Regions from separate parts of the Homo sapiens genome. Here regions 2, 3, 4, 5, 6 and 7 are each linked to region 1. Evidence: promoter capture Hi-C in 16 types of primary human blood cells and fetal thymus (Javierre and others, 2016). All regions are on one chromosome and are shown on one strand. Each heading gives the region's core, a stretch centred on a gene start or on the middle of the fragment in contact. The rest is flanking DNA. Distances are from core to core; before and after follow the strand shown. Region 1 holds the start of SNRPB2 (small nuclear ribonucleoprotein polypeptide B2). Region 2 overlaps TASP1 (taspase 1). Region 3 holds the start of XRN2 (5'-3' exoribonuclease 2). Region 4 holds the start of KIZ (kizuna centrosomal protein). Region 5 overlaps ISM1 (isthmin 1). Region 6 holds the start of ISM1-AS1 (ISM1 antisense RNA 1). Region 7 overlaps CFAP61 (cilia and flagella associated protein 61).

Region 1 (2,700 bases), core at 46-2,545:
GTAGCAAATGTACATCCAGTAAAAATCATAAGGTTAGACATTAATGAAGTTTGCCAACTACTTAATGGGTGCACTTACAAAGTCCTTCCATACCTATTAATTTGTATACAGCATCACCAAGCTGTCTGGACTCCAAGGTTATCTCTAACCGACTTGAAAGAAAGGAGCTCAATGACAGCAGTGTGGCATGACGATTAAACTCAGATTCCAGTATCAGCCAGATGTGAATTCAAATCCTATTTATGCTTCTTACTAGCTGTTTGCCTGAGGGAAGTTCCTTAACCTCTCAGGTCCTCATCAGTAAAATAAGAATGGTAACAGAACCTACCCAATAGAACTCAGAAGACTAAATGAATTCTAGCACAGTTCTGCATCAGCGGTAAACACTTAAGAGTAGCTATTATTAACAGCTATTACCAGGTAAGGAACTTGCCTAAGGTCACACAGCTAATAAGCATCAGGCCTGGAAATTCAGCCCTTGCTTTCTCCTCTACACTTGTCTTCCTCATATACCACACTATTGCATTTTTTACATGGTTTTTACTTGCAAATTGTGAACTTGGATGATTTCCTTGTGTGCCCCACATATTCCTTTATCTCACAGTATTTACAGAGCATCCACTGTATGTGAACTGCATTGGATGATTGACAAGGGAAGAGCCTACAAGCAGGGGCTGCACTTGTGCAGGTAACAGGTAAAACGTAACGCTTCTCAAAGCCTTGCGACCCCCTAAATCGAAATCTGGAGAAGGGGCAGGGGTCGCAAAGGAGACGACGAAAGGGAAGTGACTGAGGCAGAGGTCAAAGTGAAGGTAGGGGGACAAAGGGGAGGCTCTTGCAGGGTTTCATGCGAGGTTTGATCGTGGGCTGCGTTGTTACAGGGACACCCTGAATTACCCGCCACCACCAAAAGGGAGCCGCTGGAAGACACCTGAAAGCGCAGTGAACTGTCCACGCCTCGCACGAGCAGACTGACATTAACTATCCTTTACTTCGTACGCGCAAGCCTCCCGCCTCTCCAGACACAAGCACCTTCGCCCAAGGCCCCCTAACGAAGTCCAAGGGAGCTGCCACGCGATGCCCGGCCCCAGAGTCAGTCTCCTCACCCCCAAGCCTGCCCCTCCGAGATCCAAACCCGGGCCAAACGCGTACCCACCCCAGCTTCGCGCTTCGTCCGCTCCCAGCTGCAACAGGGGAGAAAAGGGCCGAGGAGCCAGGAAAACCGAAACAGCGAGGTAGAAGGCGCACGAACCCACCTAAGGCCTACGCCGACTACTGTAAGAACCAAAAGCAGGAAACGGAGCCAGGCACCGGAAGCAACGTAGCCACGCTCCTCAATCGAGCGCCGACAAGTCTAGAAGCCGAGCACAGAGCCGATCGATGCTTCCGGGTCTCTGGCAGCCAGGGCTGGCAATCTCTCTGCGCGTGCGTCTGCCCTGCGGGCAGGAGAAGAGTCCGGAAATGGAAATGGGGAAAGAGAAGGGGGTTGTGAGGACCATGCTGCGAGGGAATAGTGAAGGGGAGTGAATCATTTCCCCTACCACGACCTTGCGAAGCTTTACCCGGCGCAACAGTGCCTTCCACCTTTACAAATCCTATGTAATTTTACAGGCGCTGCCCCTCATGCTATGGGGCAGTTAGTCCTGGTTTCGCCCTTCTTTGGGCTCTAGCTACCCCGGTTTAAAATCACCTTTAGGATAGCCAGTTCCTCCTGCCTCCGAGTCTCCTCTGATTCATGGGGCTCTGCAGGAACTGTCCTCCAACACTGTGCTGATGAACTTGAATCTCAGAGGCTACTCAGTTTGAGGGCCCAGGGCAGACAGAACTGGTGTCTGCCCAATTCTCATCTCTCACCAGATAAGGCAACCATGCTGACTAGAACCCAGTCATCTGTAAGATCATCTGCCTCAATTCACTCGAAAAAATAATTCCCTACCACCCTTCCCACTCTTTTCTTCCAACAAAAGGTCTAGATTTTTCTAGGGTATTCTAAGGAGTTAGTATTTATGCCAAGCTGAATGGGAGTTCCCAAAGTGCATGCATTCATTCATCCATCCATTCATCAGATGTCTGTAAAGCATCACCTGGAATATGAAATGGTTGTTAAGAGTCAACTGGAACCTAATCTTGTACCCTCTGCTTAACTAATCTCTCTGACCTTCACTTTTTTCATCTGTAAAATAGGGATCCTAATAGTACCTCCTTCTAGTTGTTGTAAGCATTAAATGAGCTAAAATAAATGTAAAGTGATTGGCACATTGTCAGACACAATAAATGCTCAAAAATGTTATTTCTGAATTCTGGCTATAACTTGGTTCTACTGGTGAGGCAGGTAGCTGTCAAATAAGTTGGTTTTATCAGCTGGGAATTTTTATTTTTTAAAAACACCCAAAGTTGCAACAACTTGAAAATAATATAAGCTTTTTAAGGGTGGGGTTTTTGTCTGCTCTGTTCACTCAAGTACCCTTAGTAATGGGAAAAGTGACTGATAATTAATATGCATTGGATAATTCAATGAATGACATGGAAAACTAGGCAACAGTAAAACAAATATGCTTTGAACATGCACCTGAGTGTAGAGAATGTTAAGGGATCACAGAAAAGCATCGTTTTATTATATAGATCTAAAACTAGAAGAAATGGCTGAGTGTAGTAGCTCACACCTGTAATCCTAGCATTTGGGGAGGCTGAGACAGGAGG
Region 2 (2,700 bases), core at 35-2,534, 3.1 Mb after region 1:
ATTTAAATTCTAACCTTTTTATATTACCCAATTAAATAATTTTATCCGACTTCAATGGGAATAAGAAAAAATAATTTTAATAAATAGCTTTGATACCTTTTTTGTATTGCTCAATTAAATAACTTAAAAATAGGATTTTTGAACATTATCTTTGCATGAATTTGTGTAAGTAACTTATGTGTTGGTGGAAAGAAATGTATACCATCTTTGCCTGTTTTCCTTTAGGGTAATTCCTCTCCTGCAATTACTTTTGGATGGAAGTATGCCCCTTTCTCAGTAGAAGATGGTAATCTTGGAGAATGACCATGGAGAAGGGGATGAGTTCTGGAGAAGGGCTGCCTTCCAGATCATCTCAGGTTTCGGCTGGTAAAATAACAGCCAAAGAGTTGGAAACAAAGCAGTCCTATAAAGAGAAACGAGGAGGCTTTGTGTTGGTGCATGCAGGTAAGCTTTGTGGATGGCTTGGAAGATGCCAATAATGTTGATTTTTCTTTTTCTGCCTTGAAGTACACTGAGAATCACATTTCACACTTGGAGGAGGCAAAACTGCCAGAGAGGAATTGGAAGCAAAGCGATTGTTTGACTTGGATATAGTGAGGACCTCCCTCTTTACTCCCCAGTTAGAAGATCTTAGAATGGCAGCTCTTCCTAGGTTTTCACTTCCCTAACCTATTATTTACTTTAACTCTATGTAATAGATGTATTTAGGTTAGGTAGTATTAAAACCAGACAAAGTAATTTTTGAACTCTGGTTTATGTTTTTTAAAAATAATGTTGCTGTGGGAGGCTGAGGCAGGAGAATTGCTTGAACCCAGGAGGTGGAGGTTGCAGTGAGCCGACATCATGCCACTGCGCTCCAGCCTGGGCAACAAACCGAGACACCATCTCAATAAAATAAAATAAAATATTGCTGAAAAAATTGTATTGATTCCCATGTGAGACTGTGGGTATCTTAGGGCATAATTATTACACAATCTTTGAGCTGGTTCACCTTCTTTTTTTTTTTTTTTTTTGAGATGGAGTTTTACTCTTGTCGCCCAGGTTGGAATGCAATGGTGTGATCTTGGCTCACTGCAGCCTCCACCTCCCAAGTTCAAGCAATTCACCTGCCTCAGCCTCTTGAGTAGCTGGGATTACAGACGTCCACCATCACGTCTGGCTAATTTTTGTATTTTTAGTAGATGGGGTTTCACCATATTGGCCAGGTGGGTCTCAAACTCCTGACCTCGGGTGATCCACCTGCCTTGGCCTCCCAAAGTGCTGGGATTACAGGCGTAAGCCACCACACCCGGCCCACCCTCTTAATATTTTAAGTGAGGAACCTTAAGACCAGAGAGATTAAGTGACTTAAGAGACTTCAGACACTGGTGGTTGGTGCTAGAGCCAGTGTAAGAAACACCTAAGTAGGCCCTTATGTCTCAGTCTAGTGCTTTTGATGCTGTGTCAGCCTGTGATCTTTCTACTTCAGAGGACCATGAGGACAGACACAGTGGAGTTCATCCCCTGGGCCTCCCATCTTTAAAAGGTCTTGGGTTGCAGAACAGTGCTGCTCTGCCCAGGTTTCCTCAGCAGGCTCTTTTTCCTTTGGCCATTTTTATTTTCTTGTATTCAGAGTCTACTTTCCATGACCTCCATGAAGAGAGAAAGAATGTCTGGGTTTCCTTTTAACTTTCCCTGGGTAGTCAAGCAAGATGACAGCAGGATTAACTTTGATATGGAATGAGGAGTAGAAATGTTTCTTCTTGTGAGACTGGTGTCCTGCCTGGCCATTAACGTTTGGCCATATCTAGACTGGACAACCCGAGAAGCCTTATGTGAATCTAATCCAGAGTATCTAAACAAATCCAAAAAACCAGAAACCAGGTTTAATCCCATTTTCTCACAGGTGCTTTTACAAGGAGGTGAGGTAAATTTACAGAAATAATCCAGTTAAAAGTAGACCTGGGACTAGAGCTTCTGCCTTCAGACTCCTAGTCTGTGTTCTTTCCACTACACTATGTTGATGGTACATCTTCCATTATCTTCCATGATACCAGTGAGTTACCGTATTCAGAGTGAGTGTTTGGAAAGTGTAAAAGAAAGGTCTGAAAGTTGTAACAAGCAATAACATAAAGCTTCAATTAGTTGGAAAGCCTTACTTTCTATAACTATTATGACCCTGTCCCTCCTGTCTTAGACACAGACTAGATGATAATGGCTCTGCCAACCTTAAATAATGGAATTCAGAAGCTATGATTAAAGGTAGAGCTTATTCATGCACAAAGCTTGAGGATGTCCACCTGGGAAACACTGACTCCAAACAAATGGGGTCTGTGTTCCAAAGTGGAGAAGTTAAGTTTTCATTTATGTAGGTAGAGATAGAAAAATTTTAGCAGGATGGTAACATTTTCCGTAGGAGACCAGTGCATAAGTTACAGCAATTTGATTGGTTATAGATTGCTACATCCTAAGGAAGATTACTTTTTACTTTGTGAGAAGGGGCAGTGATCTGAGAGGGTCTTATCTCTGGTGTTGTTTGGTCTTCCTAATTATTTACAGGAAAAAGGCAAAAGTTGCAGCTGCATGTTGTGTGACTCAGGGTGCATAGCCACATTCCTTTCAAGGCTCAGAATGATTTAATGGCTCAACTTTTTTTTTTTTTTTTAAGACTAAGTTTCGCTCTTGTTGCCCAGGCTGCAGTGGTGTGATCTTGGCTCACTC
Region 3 (2,700 bases), core at 1-2,500, 4.6 Mb before region 1:
GTTAAAGGTGGAGAAATGGGATGAGAAGGGGTAGAGCAAGAACTGTTGCTTTTTGTTTAACCCACGTGCAAGTAAAGTTCAATAAAGTTCGATTAAAATTTTACAAAGGAAACAAGTATTCAATTTAGCAGTTGCTTTTTGAAAAAAACAAGAAATAGTGGGAATGTCACTAAGACAAGGCTTTTGGTTCCTCCTTGGATAGAAGCCAAGAAAGTTAAAAAAAAAAAAAAAAGCAGAAATAAGTTCACAGTGACAGGCAAGCACTGCCTTCAAAAACTAAGGAGTGAGGTACGCGTGATGTGCCTCTGAACGTTTCCAATCCAGAAATTCTAATTAAGAGCACAAAATCGAATCCGCATGGAATGACGAAAACAATAAAAACAAAACTCAATAATGGCCAAAAATCTACTTACGTATTAACTAACAACAAAAATTGTACTGCTCAAGTACATCCAGTAATCTTGAAATTTTCAACAAGCACCCACCCCGTTCAGTAGTCAGGGCACACAGAGAAGGGTAACTTCTCAGAATTCTATAGCGCTCATCCTGGACCTGACATACTGCTTTCAGCGTCCAATCTAACCAGAACAACAAATGGTCCTGAACACTAGGAGAAAACCTTTCCGGCACAATTGGTAAACAACGAAAAGGTCGCCGCCAGGGATTCCTTTACAAGGTTGTCAAAAAGCTGGCCTCCGAATCCGTGCATCCATAACCCGCTAGCTCAGCTGACCTGGCATGCATTGCTCAACAACAGCCTCTGAACCTCTTCCGAGACCCAAAATGCGCGGTCTGGAGAGGAAACAAAGCAGTGGGCGGGGCCTTCCGGTGCCGGGAAAAAGCGAGTAGGGGAGGAGCGACCCTCCTGCGAGTTCGGAACCCTATAGGCCCTTGCCCCGCCGAGGGTCCTGAATTCCTCGCCCCCGGGGTGCTGAATCCCACAGCCCGCGTCCCATCGCGTGTGGGGCTGCGACTGCTCGCGAGGCTGGCAGCAGGGCGCGAGCTCCGGCAAGGCTCCCCGGGGGCAGGCGGCGGAGCCCATGGGCCGCGGCCTAGACGTGCCGGGGGCCCGGGCTCGAGTGTGGCGGCCGCCTGGCGCCTCCTCACCTTCTCTTCCACGCAGTTGACTATGATGGACGGGTACTTGCGGCTGAGCCAGCGGAAGAACGCCGGGACTCCCATAGCGGCACACGGCTGGAGGCGGCGGCCGACCGGCTGACGAGCGTAACCAAAGAGACGGGAGCAGCGGCAGAGGGCACCAGCACTTCCTCCCACGTGCGCGCTGGAGAACGGAAGTGACGTCACGGCGCCGCCGCCGGGGAAGCTGGGAAGGAGGCTTCGCTGGATGAGGGAGCGGCGGAAAAGGGCCTTGCCGGGCTGTTTGTGGGAGGCGGAGTCCGGCGGCGGACCGGGTGGCGAAGGCTGCAGCTCGCCCTCGGTGGTCCCAGCCCCGGAGCGCGAGGCCGAGCGCGTCTGAGTTGCGGGGGCTCACGGGCGACTGCTCTGCCGGGGCTCCGCCGGGATCTCCCAGCCCCAGCCCTCCGGCTCCCTGGGCACAGAATCGCTGCGCTCTGCATGCCCGGGAGGAGGTCTCCCTTGCCCGTTTGGTCACCTCTTGTTTGGAAGAAAATGTCTTTTTTTGCCTCTATGCTCACCCGTCTCAATCTAGGGTAGAATCGAAGCATCCAAACTTACTCGTTACTTCCATTTCCTGGTTTCTCCTAGTTTTGTGCTGCAGTACGTACCTGGACTATCAAAAGGAGCATTTTAAAGCATTTTACAGTAATAATGGCTGCTTTGCACCAATAATTTGATTGTTATGCAAATAAATAATTATGATAGTTACCGAATGGAATCTAGCCGGTATTTAGCATCCAATACAATCTTCCAGCTACAATTACGGGTATAAAATAGTTGCTAATATGATTTTCCAGCATTTACTGAGCCTTTACAGTGTACCAAGACATTGACTAAGGGATTGTCCTATGTAATCTTCACTTGAACCTTGTGAGGGTACTGTTAGCACCCTCGTGTAAATGATAAGAAAGCCAAGTTACAGAGGAGTTAAGTCACTTATGCACATAGCTTCTGTTTCAGTTCAAGCAAAGGTCATTTTTAATCCATCCTTGTTCTAACACGATACTTTTATCTTTTGTTTTCTGGTGGTCCCAAACGAATTTTTTCCATATGAAAGGAGAGGTCTGGAAGAGGAGGTATATTTGTCCGTTTGCTCAAGCCTGGAAGTCTCCCTGAATCCCCTCTTGGTTTGACACACATCACACACGATGCTAAATGCTCACCTCATGAGGCCTCTGTGAAAGTATTTCGCCGAGTTACCTCACAGGCAGTATTTATTGCCCCCTCCTCTGTGGTCTGATGACTACTTTGTTTAAACTACTAGTGTGGAAATTAGAGAAATAGTCATCCCGTGTTTTACTTAAGGATAGCCAAAACTATTCCAAAGTATTATGTCTATGGTGAAATTCCTCCTTTTACCTGGAAGCAGCCCCTCTGGTTTCCCTGGGAGGTGCTGTTATAGGAACATGTACACCATAGGCAGTTCAGGGATAGACAGCTGGCCAAGTTGAGCCATTTAGAATCCTTAACCAGCATTTTGGCGGGTTGGGAGGGTTTATTGTTTTGTTTTTGTTTTTTCAGACGGAGTCTCAGTCATCCAGGCTGGAGTGCAGTGGCAAGATC
Region 4 (2,700 bases), core at 93-2,592, 4.4 Mb before region 1:
ACTTCTCTAGCTGGAAATTTCATCCCTTCGCTGGAAATCTAGCCAGCCCTCGCTACCCCTAAAAGTCTCCTGAGTTTAAACGGGGGCACATGTTTGACACACACACACACAACCGTCTGCGTTCCAGGACTTGTCATCATTGATGCAGTGCAGCTGTCACGGCGGGATGGCAATTTGAAGAGAGTGGGGAGGGGGCGTGTAAAAGGGGACAAGAGAAACTCACAAGGCTTGATGGAGAGTGACAGGCAGAAGAACTCCCACCTTCACTTCTGGGCAAATTCTGTGACGCGGCCGCATCCTCAAACCGTAGACCAGGCTTTAGCTGCTATTGACGGGGCGGGGGCGGTCTCTCACCTCTCTCCGCTCCCACCCCCAATACAGGGGGTGGCTCTAGTAAACACTGTCCTCCAGGCCCCACTGGGAGCCTGGGGGGCGTTGCGCGCGGGCCTGGGCCCCGGGGAACCTCGGACGGGGGAGCGGGAAGGAAAATGGGGCAGGGCACGCGGAAGACCCCCGGCGCGGGCCGACTCCCCACCCCCGCCCCAGTGCCCTTACCTGTCCCGCAGCCCGTGCTGGAGTTGGCCCAGCCTCTCGTAGTAGTCGGGACTCGACAGGGGCACGGCCGATGCGAGGGTCCGGCTCATGCTGCTGCCGCTGCGCCAGCTCAGCACAGCCTCTGGGTGGCCGTTCGGCCGGGGTTGCCGAAGGAGACCGCCCCACCATGCACCGCGGGTAAACACCGCGCCGGGCCGCCTGCAGGAGGCGGGGCAAGACGCCGTGGGGGCGGGGCGCCGCTGAGGGACGGGGCGGAAGCCGGCTTTGTGGGGGGCGGGACGAAGACCTGCATGGGGCGGGGAAGAGGCGTGGCAGAGGCGGGGCGTCGTGAGGCCGGGGCGGACCACGTCGGAGGGGCGGGCGCTCGGTGCCCTCTCCTCTCTCCCTTGACGCGGTGTCTCCTTTCCCCTCACCTTCCAGGATTCGCACAAGCTACGTTAATGTTACAAGGCGCATTCCCTCCCTTTCTTTCGTCTCTCGCTTGCTTCTTTTCCTCGATCTCCTTTCTTGCCAGGATTTGTTGAGTGCCAGGCACTGTACTAAGCTTGTTCTATTATATCAGCACTCAAAAGCGACACAAAACACCAAGTAAAAAAAGACAAACCCTCAAATGCTAAACAGCCGTGCTCAGCCCCGACAGTGGACCAACCCCTTACTCGAAAATCCGTGCTGAATCTAAGGATTGTTCCAGGTGCCAGTATCGTTGGCGAGAGGGAAAAGTTGATAACTAGTTGCTTGGGAAGCAGACGTTTGTGCAGACAGCTCTAAGGGACAATGCTCCTAATGTCCTGTAGGATCCTCTAGCAGGAGCCCGGGAGCCAGACTGCCTGGGTGTACATTCCCTATCCACGTCCCAGCTGCCAAGCCGTGTGCAAGTCACCCCAGGTTTCCTCATATGTAAAGTGGGAGGCTGTTAACACAGGATTAGTTTAGGATTCGATTGTTAATATGTGTTAGTGTTTATAAGTGGGCCCAGCACATAGAAAGCATCAGGTTTTATTATCATCACCAACGTCGGGAAAAAGCTTCCTGAAGGAAGCCAACCATATTTCAAAACCCACTGGGCAGAAAAATTAAGCCTTAGCCTGCTTCTCTGCCTTCCTTTCCTTTTTTTTTTTTTTTTTTTTGAGACAGAGTCTCACTCTGTTGCCCAGGCTGGAGTGCAGTGGCGTGATCTCGGCTCACTGCAAGCTCTGCCTCCCGGGTTCAAAAGATTCTCGTGCCTCAGCCTCCTGAATAACTGGGATTACAGGTGTGCGCTACCACACCCAGATAATTTTTGTTTTTTTTGGTATTTTTTATATTTTAAGGAGAGACGGGGTTTCACCATGTTGGCCAGGCTGGTCTTGAACTCCCAACCTCAGGTGATCCACCCACCTTGGCCTCCCAAAGTGTTAGGATTACTTGCATGAGCCACCATGCCCGGCCTGTAGAGTTTCTTTAGTCTCTTATTGTTCACTTCTTTTGGTTTCTTTCCTATGCCATTAATTTTACTTACACATACAAGGTGCAAGGTGTGACAAACTAAAATTGTAAGAGAGATGGAACACTCAAAGGCCAACAACACAAAACTATGATTTTACTCAGCCTTCCATTCACATTTGCCAGTTCCAGGGCAAGAGTGTGAATGGAGGCCCTCATACCATCCGCCTAAATATTGAATTATAATTCAAGATAACAAACTTAGGTAAAATACGTGTTCTCCTCTCCACTTTGACCAATATGCCTTCTTAAGAACCTGGACAACCAGGGTGGAATTTAGTTTGCCTGCTTCTCCAGCTCCCCCCAACTCCATTTCCCACCCCAGGCTCAGTCTTGCTTTGTGAGGGGGTCTCATACACTAGCAGGGATGTGTGTGCCCTGCCTCTTCTCCTCCTCTTCTCCAGCCAGCAAGTCCCAACTCTGCCTACATCCCCACCTCAGCCTCCTCTTGGCCGGGCAGTGAGCATGCCAGTGATGGTCACCCTTGCAGGAAAGACCCAGCCAAGAGGCCTTTTAAAGCCTTAGAAAGCAGCTTGGGCCCCTTTGAGCAGGGAAGGTAAGGGTGTTGGGTACTTAGAACGTGTTCTAGAAGAGCATGTGTGTGTATGTGTGTGAGCACCCCAGGTGGGCCTGTCATCTGGCCCTGGGACCTCCTTGCCTTGC
Region 5 (2,700 bases), core at 1-2,500, 3.5 Mb after region 1:
GACAACCATTCAAAGACTAACATTTTTATTTTCATCAGCCAGTTACCCAATATGGAGAGTGTACTCAAAACTTTTTACTGCCACCTTGTAACATCGTACCTATTAATGTTTTGAGCACACTAGGGCATACTAGGGGAGACAGTCATACAAAGAGTCAAAAATGTAACCCCTAGTGCGCTGAAACTACAAAAAAAGTTAGATAACATTTATACATATATGTGTATTATGTATATATAATGTATGTGTATATATACATATATGTCATAGTTAACACAGTAAGACTGTCAAGATACATTTGAAAATGTAAATTGTTAAAAGCCTTTCTCTCTCTTGAGTGTATGACTTTATCAAGAACTTGCAGTAGAAATATGCTTCAAATAGCTCCCCACTATAAAATAACGAAAATAAATGAAGAAGCTTCTAGCTGTGCAACCTTGGGCAAATTACCTAACCTCAGTTTCTCCTTTTGAAACAGGGATAATGATAGCACCTAATTCCCGGGATTTTTGTGAGGATTAAGAAAGCTAGTATGGGCCGGGCGCGGTGGCTCACGCCTGTAATCCCAGCACTTTGGGAGGCCAAGGCGGGCGGATCATGAGGTCAGGAGAGTGAGACCATCCTGGCTAACACGGTGAAACCCCGTCTCTACTAAAAATACAAAAAAAAAAAAAATTAGCCGGGCGTGGTGGCAGGCGCCTGTAGTCCCAGCTACTTGGGAGGCTGAGGCAGGAGAATGGCATGAACCCGGGAAGTGGAGGTTGCAGTGAGCAGAGATCGCGCCACTGCACTCCAGCCTGGGCGACAGAGCAAGACTGCGTCTCAAAAAAAAAAAAAAAAAAAAAAGAAAGAAAGCTAGTATGTGTAAAGTGCTAAGAACAGTGCCTGCCACATAAAAGGCACTTAATAAATCTTAACTATTATTGTTGCTTTTCTTACTACTACTTTATTGGGCGTCCTTGATATATCCTTAAATAAGAATGTGTCCCTTTTTAAGTGAATACAAACATACTACAATTCAGGTAAATAAACTCACCATTGCATATTTCTGACTAAGACAACCTTATATTTTAGAAGGTTGTACACAGAGATAAAAACAATAAAAATGATGTATATGGATTGATTAATTTTCTGATTGTGAAGAAGGATTTTAGTAGCTCAGGATAGCACAGAACCAACAAATTTAGATGATGTTTAAGACTTGGGTTTAAAATGTCTGGTAAAAAGAAAGAATACAGTGTCCACAGTTTTGTCTTCAAATACACCTGCTACTAGCAAATTCACTTTCTGGGGCCTGAAAACGATGGACTAATAAATGTCTTTTGCAGACCTCCTCATTTGGCAGAACATTCTTCTTTTGACTTATAATACCTTCAGAGAGTCAGAGGGCCAAAGAAATAACTTTGGTCAGGAAGAGTATAAAACTTTTATAATAACAAATTACAAAACAGCAAAATTATGAACTAAACTGCTAAACTCATCATTCTGCTTGGAAAAGTGTGTGCATTGAGTGGACAGTCTCACCGAACACTATTACAAGATAAGCTGAAGCTGGTGGATTAGCAGCTACTTGGGACTCAAGATATTTCTAGGAGCATAACTCTTTCTAAATCCCCCATTTGTTGTGTCCTCTTGGGGCAGTTCTTCAGCCAAAGCCCCTTTTGAGAATTCAGTCCACTTCCCTTTTAGAACTGCCACTTCCACCAGCTGCTTCTCTCATTACCTTACTGTTCAAGCGGAAAAGGCCAACCCCGGGTTATTCTAATGATAGCAAACACCTCATAAAGTAATCTGCCAAATTTACTTTTCCACAGAACATCATTTTTATGGCTTTTCATGAGTCCATGAGGAAAGAAAGCATCATGTATAAAATATAACTTCCAGAAATCTTGAAGATATTAAGAATTATCTCCGCAGTGTTAGATTGGTGGGTGCCCCAGTCTATAGGATGGTGGCATCTTCAACTTCCGCATAGAAATTCCCTCAGTCTGTCACTGTACTTATCTACCCACGGGAGAAGGTGAGAGAACCCACAAAGTTAGGACATTTTTAGAAATGTCTCAAAGTTAAAACAACTTTAAGCTTTGGGGTGTGTACTTTTCTACTGTTTTGTAATTGCGTGCAATAATCACCTTGCTTTAGTCTATCCTGGTAGAGACAAAATTTGGTGTAATCAAGAGTTTGGAATGTCTGAACTTTGACAAGTTTTTTAACCTCTCTGTACCTCAGTTTTTGCATCTGTAAATGAGGCTATATTAACAGTACCATGTCTTGTAAGATTATGGTTAAATTAAGTGAGTTAAATTCTGTAAAGTACTTAAAACGGTGGCACGTAGTAAACACAATGGAAGTGTTTTATTAGTTTTCTCTTTACGGTAAAGTTTTTCGCAATAAATTGTATAAAGATGTAAAAAGTGAATTATCAAAGACAATGAATATAAAGGCCTTTGGGAACAATGAATAATGCTTATTTCATTTTATTTATTTATTTATTTATTTTATTTTATTTTATTTTATTTTATTTTTTTTTTGAGACGGAGTCTCGCTCTGTCGCCCAGGCTGGAGTGCAGTGGCGCGATCTCAGCTCACTACAACCTCCCGGGTTCAAGCAATTCTCCTGCCTCAGCCTCCCGAGTAACTGGGACTACAGGCGTGCGCCACCACGCCCAGCTAATTTTTGTATTTTTAGTAGAGACGGGGTTT
Region 6 (2,700 bases), core at 105-2,604, 3.5 Mb after region 1:
TCAACATCCATGTAGATGACCTCCCCAGTTCTTGGACCTCCTCACCTCCCATACCCTTTCCCTCTACTGCATCTCAACCACCCTCTTCCCTAGACCTTTTGTCAGTAAACCTTCTACATAAAGACACTTTCCATTCTTTTAACTCATTTTTCCAGTTTTAAAACTCATTGAGATCTCCAAGCCACTGCCATTTTCTCACCTCCCTTCAGCCTTCTCTTGTTTTTACTTTCCTTCTTCAACAAGTGTTCTTTTATTTTAATCATTTCCTTGCAACGGCCCTCAACTCTGCTTGCCCCTTTCTCTTCTCCTTATATATTTGACTGGCAACACCTCCATTTTGGTTGAACTCAGTGATCCAACTTCTGTAGGTTAGTAGCCAAGCAGGTGGGTGATGGGAACAATAAAAGCATCCAACTTGACAAACTTGCTTTATTTTAGATTCATGTCCTCAAACCCTCAAATGAATACTAAGCACTGTTCCAAAATCCAACTGCCCTTCCTTCACAACCTTACTTGCTCCAGTATCCAAGATGACCATTTTATATCTTCTCTCCTCAAACGTCCTACTTGTGCTCCTGCCCTCACTTCATATTTCACTGATGGAACAGGAGTCATGAGATGGTAACTCTTTTATTACCATCACTCTATTTATACTCCTGTCTGCATAGCTCATTTTCTTTCTCTTCCCAATTGTTACACAGAACAAGCTTTCCTGCTTCTGTGAAAGGCCAATGCTCACACATAGCCCCTTGCCTTCTTGAAGAATTCACTCCTCATTTCTCCTCTCTCAGTTTTGCATCATCAATCTCTCCCTTTCTATTGGATCGTTCTCATCAGCCTCACAGATGCCCTGGTATCTCTGATCTTACATGAACCAAAAACTCTTTTTTGACCACATGTTCATATATCTCCCCTTTTTATAGTAAAACTTTTGCAAGACTTATTTGTATATTCTGTCTCCATTTCCTCACCTTCCATTTGTTCCTTTACCCAATAGACACTGGAGTCTGTTCCCATGATGCCTCTGCAACTGCAGAGCAGTTGGTGACCTCATTCAGGTCACCAGTCATGGCTGCGTTGCCCAGTTGAATGAGCACTTCTCTGGCCTCATCTTTTTTGTTCTCACAGCAGCATTCGATAGAAGTCCTCTCTCCTTAAGGCATTCTTCTCCCCTGGCTTCTGTGACACACCTCTTGGTTCTCCTTTTACCACTTTCATCATGACACCTCACTCTCAGCTCCCTGTCCACTTCACAGCCTCCCTGCTATTATCTTCACTTACATGTCCCAGAGGCATCTCATATTCCACATGTCCCATATAAATCCACTGACATGAACTCTACCCTTGTGAAACTGGAAGCTGTCTTTGACTCTTCACTTCTTAACTCTGAAATGCAATCCAACAGCATATCCTGTTGGCTCTGTCTCAGAACTGTGCCTTGCATCCATCCACTCTTCTCTACCCTGGTCCACATCCCATCACCTCTTACCTGAATTATTGTGAAATTTTCTAACATATCTATGTTCTTCCCTCTCATTATCCACTGATCAGATGGAGCCATCATTTAGAAGCTCTTCAATGGCTGCTTCCTCACCAATCCTAGAACAGCCATATTCTTTATCATGACCTGCAAAATCCTTGCTTTTTTCTGCAAGTTCATGTGCCACTTTCTTCCTTACACACTGTTCTCCAGTCTCTTTTCCATCCCTTAGTCATGCCAAAGTCCTTCCTATCTCAAGGCTTTGGTGTTTGTGATTCCGTCTGCCTGACTGGCTCTCCTGAGTTCTTTGCAGAGCTGGTCCTTTTATTCCCCCAGCTCAGGACTCAAGTGTCACTTTTCCATCAAGTCCTTCCTTGACCACCCTCTTTTAGTAGGAACTCCCAGTTATTCCCTATCTTTTGCTCCCTGTTTATGTCCTGCTAAGCACCTATCACAATCTATAATAATTCCTTTATTCTGAATCAATTATTGTCAGTTTTCTTTCTAGAACATAAGCTTGTTCTCTATTGAATCTCCAGTGCCTAGCACAATATCTGCTGATCACAGCCACGCGATATGAAAGTGCTGAATGAATGAATGGAATTGTAGAATGCCATGTGGCTGGGCAGTGCTCAATGCTTATATGTACATTATTTCATTTGCCTTACTGCAGTTTGGTTGTATATTAAATAAAAGAGACAATTCATGTCCATTTAATTACCTTTCTGCTCCTGTAACAACCTAAGAGCAACCACCATGTAGCAGGATCCCAGCACTTTAGATGTACACTTACTCTAATTCTCTTTAGCTAAGTGGGGCTATAAAAACTTTTACAGATGTTCAGAAATGGGGGATTGTGTGGCTTCATGAAAGATGACTTGCTTTGGAGTCTGGTACTGGCTGTAGGATAAATGAATGGTATGGTCTTAGCCAAATCTTTTAATTTCTCCAGGTTTTAGATTCTTTGTCAATGAAATGAGACATTGGGGCTTGGCTTTCTTGCCTACAACAACATTCTAGAATTTGGTGAGTGTCTGCAACCTGCCTTCTAAACAGAGTGCCTCACCATGGAGTGCAGGTGGGTTGGAGCACAGATGAAGCCCCGGTCCAACCTGGGCATTCCTGCAGCCATGTGCAGTGACCCTTGTGTATGTGAGTACCTGTCATGTGCCCACGTATCCTGGTGGCACAAAAGGTACTTCATGTAGATTGTCAGGACC
Region 7 (2,700 bases), core at 188-2,687, 3.3 Mb before region 1:
CTTGATCCCATATATAAAATATTCTTACATTTTTACCACAGATATCCTAACGTGTGTAATTATGGAAAATCTCTCCAGCCCTTGTGGGTGGAATTCAATAATATTTCATCAATGGAAGAAACTAATTTTTTAAATTCTGCTTTCTGAAACACAACTAGTCACGAGGGATTTAGTTAAAGGATTGTGGATCTATAATGCCCTTTTATTACCTGCTTAACCTCAGCAACATTTGTGATTATGTCCTTTTCACATTACTTTGAAAGTTTTTCTTTTTTTCCTGATTAATCTTGTCAGATTTTTTTTTTCTTTAGGCTTTTTAAAGAACAAACTTTTGGCTTTGTTTATCCTCTACCAGATGCTTGTTTCCTGTTTCATTAATATGCGCTCTTGTCCTTTATTTTCTGTTTTCCTTGAGTTGATTCGACTGTTCTTGCTCTTAGAGGTAAACTCTGAACTTTATTTCAGGCCTTTCTTCTCTTCTGTTATAAGCATTTAAGGTTATAAGTTCCCTCTAAGACCTGCTATTTTGTTCAACTATTTCTGCATAACAGATTATCCCAAATTTAGTGGCTACTCTGTTTTATTTGCTCATGATTCTATGGGTGAGAGATTCAGACAGGGTACAGTAGGGGTATCTGTTGGGGCAAGAACCTCCAAGACGGTTTTTTTCCCTCATGTGTCTTGTGCCTCAGTGAGGGTGGCCCAAAGGGGCTGGGGTGTGCCTGGAAGAGTGACATGGGGCCTTCCTTCTTGCTGGAGGCTGGGCTCCTCAATTCTCCTCCATGTAGGCACACACTTCTCTCTTACGATATGGCCTCTCTGGGTGGTATGTCCAGTAGAGTAGCCAGACTTTTTACATGGTAGTGCAAGGCTCCCAAGATCACAAAACTGAAAGCTCCCAGCAAAGGCTCGAACTAGGGTGAGGCCAGAGGGACCCAGGGTTCAAAAATGGAAGGAGGTGTTCACTCTCAGGTTCATGCAGGGGCCCTAGCTGGGAGTGAGTACCCAGGATACCCTGCGTGCCTCTCCTGGGCCAGCCCTGCTGCCAGGCCATCTTAACGCTTGGGCCTGGGACCAGGACAGCCCCACTTCCATTACATTCTGTCAGGGGAATCACAGGCTCAACAAAGATAGAAAACATGGGGACTACAGCAGGGAGAATGGCACAAAAAGGCATGGGGAACACAGGGAGGCGGGAGAGTCTCCAGTGCTCTACCTGTGATTTTCACTTTTATCTATTTTAGAACTGTGTTGTTAGAAGCATATAAGTTTAAAGCTGTCATAGCTCTCCCAACAACAGTTTTATCATTATATAGTGACCCTCTTTATCTGTAGGGAGCTTTTTGTCCTGAACTATACACTGTCTGCTGTTGATATAGCAATACTAGCCCTTATTTTGGGTGAGATTTTGGGTGGCATATCTTTTTTCCTGATACTTTGACTTTAAATATTTCTGTGACTTTATATATGAGGTATGTCTCACAAATAGAATATGACTGTTTTGTTTTGAGCCAATCTGCCATTCTTAATCTTTTAATGGAAGATTTTTGTCCAGATGCATTTATTATGATTGCTGATATAGTAAAATTTATTTTCTTATTCTGTAATTTTAATACATTCTATGCTTTTTGTTTCTTTTTTCCTCCTCCTGTCTTGTCCTCTTTTAGATTCAGGGTTCATTTTAAATTTCTCATTCCATTTTTCCCTCTATAGATCAGAAGTTATCATCTCTACACCTGTTCTTTTAATGATGATCTTAACCATGTTAATATATATTCCTAACAGTCTTTATTATCTGTTCCAGTTATCAACTGATGTGTAATAAACCACCCCAAACCTCAGTGGCTTTAAGTAGCAATTATTATCTCTCATGGTTCTGTGGGCTGCCTGGGTTGAACTAAGCAGTTTTTGCACGGTATCTCAGGCTATCAAATGGCAGCAGTGGCTAAAGCCATCTGAAGACTCAGTGTCTAAGACGGCTTACTTGCATGGTTGGCAGCTGGTGGCAGTTGCTAGCGGGGAGCTCAGCAGAGGCTGTCAAATGAAGCACCCACAGGGAAACATGTGACTGGAGCTTTCATCAGTGTGGCACTGGGTTCTGAGAAGGAGCACTTCCGGAGACCCAGTGGAAGTTGCAAGACTTCTTATGACTTAGACTTGAAGTCAAATAGAGTCTCACTTCTGCTGCTTTCCATTGGCTGCATAAGGCGAGCCATGATTCTTTGTGAGAACAGACTACACAAAGGCGTAAGTGACAGGATGTGTGGCTCATTGGAGCCAGGGGAGCCTGTTTGCACACCACTTACCACACCCTCCATCTTAAATAAAACCTGAAGGATTCTTTCATTCTAATCATGCTCCTCCCAATTTATATAATGTTTTTGTCCTGAATCTTAGTTTTAACATATGGTTTATACCTCACAAATCAGTCATTATCAATATTATTGTTTTATGCAAGTCATACTTTTTCTTAGATTTACCTATATATTTTCCATATTTTTGTTGACATTCCTTCTTGTGTTTTGAGCTTTCCAGCTGAGGTATTCTCTGTTCCTCCAAAAACATATTCTGAGGAATTTCCTCCATTCAGAGTTTATTGGCAAATGACTTAGGTTTTTGTTTGTCAGAAAATGCATTTATTTTCTCCCAGGTCCCCTAGGAATTGTTTCACTGGGTGAAACAATGTCACAATTCTAAATT

The links. Contacts are between HindIII fragments. The CHiCAGO score rates a contact against its expected background, and 5 or more counts as called.
Region 2: a contact is called between a fragment that was not itself captured here and the fragment with the promoter of SNRPB2 in region 1, in 4 of 17 cell types (naive CD8 T cells, non-activated CD4 T cells, total CD4 T cells and 1 more). The highest score is 7.5, in naive CD8 T cells.
Region 3: a contact is called between the fragment with the promoter of XRN2 here and the fragment with the promoter of SNRPB2 in region 1, in 1 of 17 cell types (naive CD8 T cells). The highest score is 8.8, in naive CD8 T cells.
Region 4: a contact is called between a fragment that was not itself captured here and the fragment with the promoter of SNRPB2 in region 1, in 3 of 17 cell types (naive CD4 T cells, naive CD8 T cells and total CD8 T cells). The highest score is 8.5, in naive CD4 T cells.
Region 5: a fragment that was not itself captured here is called in contact with the fragment with the promoter of SNRPB2 in region 1 in 1 of 17 cell types (non-activated CD4 T cells); the score reaches 6.1 in non-activated CD4 T cells.
Region 6: a contact is called between a fragment that was not itself captured here and the fragment with the promoter of SNRPB2 in region 1, in 1 of 17 cell types (naive CD4 T cells). The highest score is 6.0, in naive CD4 T cells.
Region 7: a fragment that was not itself captured here is called in contact with the fragment with the promoter of SNRPB2 in region 1 in 1 of 17 cell types (non-activated CD4 T cells); the score reaches 7.1 in non-activated CD4 T cells.

The regions. Positions count from the first base shown.
Region 1 is chr20:16,728,621-16,731,320 of GRCh38, reverse strand. SNRPB2 (small nuclear ribonucleoprotein polypeptide B2) reads right to left here and starts at 1,295. Exons shown (of 7, transcript NM_003092.5): 1 at 1,157-1,295. RefSeq lists a silencer at 838-887 and enhancers at 1,038-1,157, 1,208-1,257, 1,316-2,184. The HindIII fragment of the contact is 9,448 bases long and covers 1-1,558 here.
Region 2 is chr20:13,627,678-13,630,377 of GRCh38, reverse strand. TASP1 (taspase 1) reads left to right here. Exons shown (of 14, transcript NM_017714.3): 2 at 226-444. The coding sequence starts at 300. Among named protein-coding and RNA genes, the nearest start is that of TASP1, 9.9 kb to the left of the region's middle. The HindIII fragment of the contact is 1,665 bases long and covers 452-2,116 here.
Region 3 is chr20:21,301,881-21,304,580 of GRCh38, reverse strand. XRN2 (5'-3' exoribonuclease 2) reads right to left here and starts at 1,250. Exons shown (of 30, transcript NM_012255.5): 1 at 1,108-1,250. The coding sequence starts at 1,182. RefSeq lists an enhancer at 653-702 and a silencer at 1,423-1,552. The HindIII fragment of the contact is 6,284 bases long and covers 1-2,700 here.
Region 4 is chr20:21,124,060-21,126,759 of GRCh38, reverse strand. It overlaps KIZ (kizuna centrosomal protein), which reads right to left and starts at 678. Exons shown (of 13, transcript NM_018474.6): 1 at 556-678. The coding sequence starts at 644. RefSeq lists enhancers at 160-209, 1,110-1,209 and a silencer at 370-949. The HindIII fragment of the contact is 481 bases long and covers 1,102-1,582 here.
Region 5 is chr20:13,222,985-13,225,684 of GRCh38, reverse strand. The region is part of intron 1 of ISM1 (isthmin 1); the gene reads right to left. It also overlaps a transcript of TASP1 not described here. Among named protein-coding and RNA genes, the nearest start is that of ISM1, 3.1 kb to the right of the region's middle. The HindIII fragment of the contact is 1,662 bases long and covers 420-2,081 here.
Region 6 is chr20:13,239,522-13,242,221 of GRCh38, reverse strand. All of the region lies in intron 1 of ISM1 (isthmin 1), which reads right to left. It overlaps ISM1-AS1 (ISM1 antisense RNA 1), which reads left to right and starts at 2,535. Exons shown (of 3, transcript NR_040043.1): 1 at 2,535-2,700. It also overlaps a transcript of TASP1 not described here. The HindIII fragment of the contact is 1,289 bases long and covers 710-1,998 here.
Region 7 is chr20:20,060,199-20,062,898 of GRCh38, reverse strand. All of the region lies in intron 2 of CFAP61 (cilia and flagella associated protein 61), which reads right to left. Among named protein-coding and RNA genes, the nearest start is that of CFAP61, 9.0 kb to the right of the region's middle. The HindIII fragment of the contact is 6,753 bases long and covers 1-2,700 here.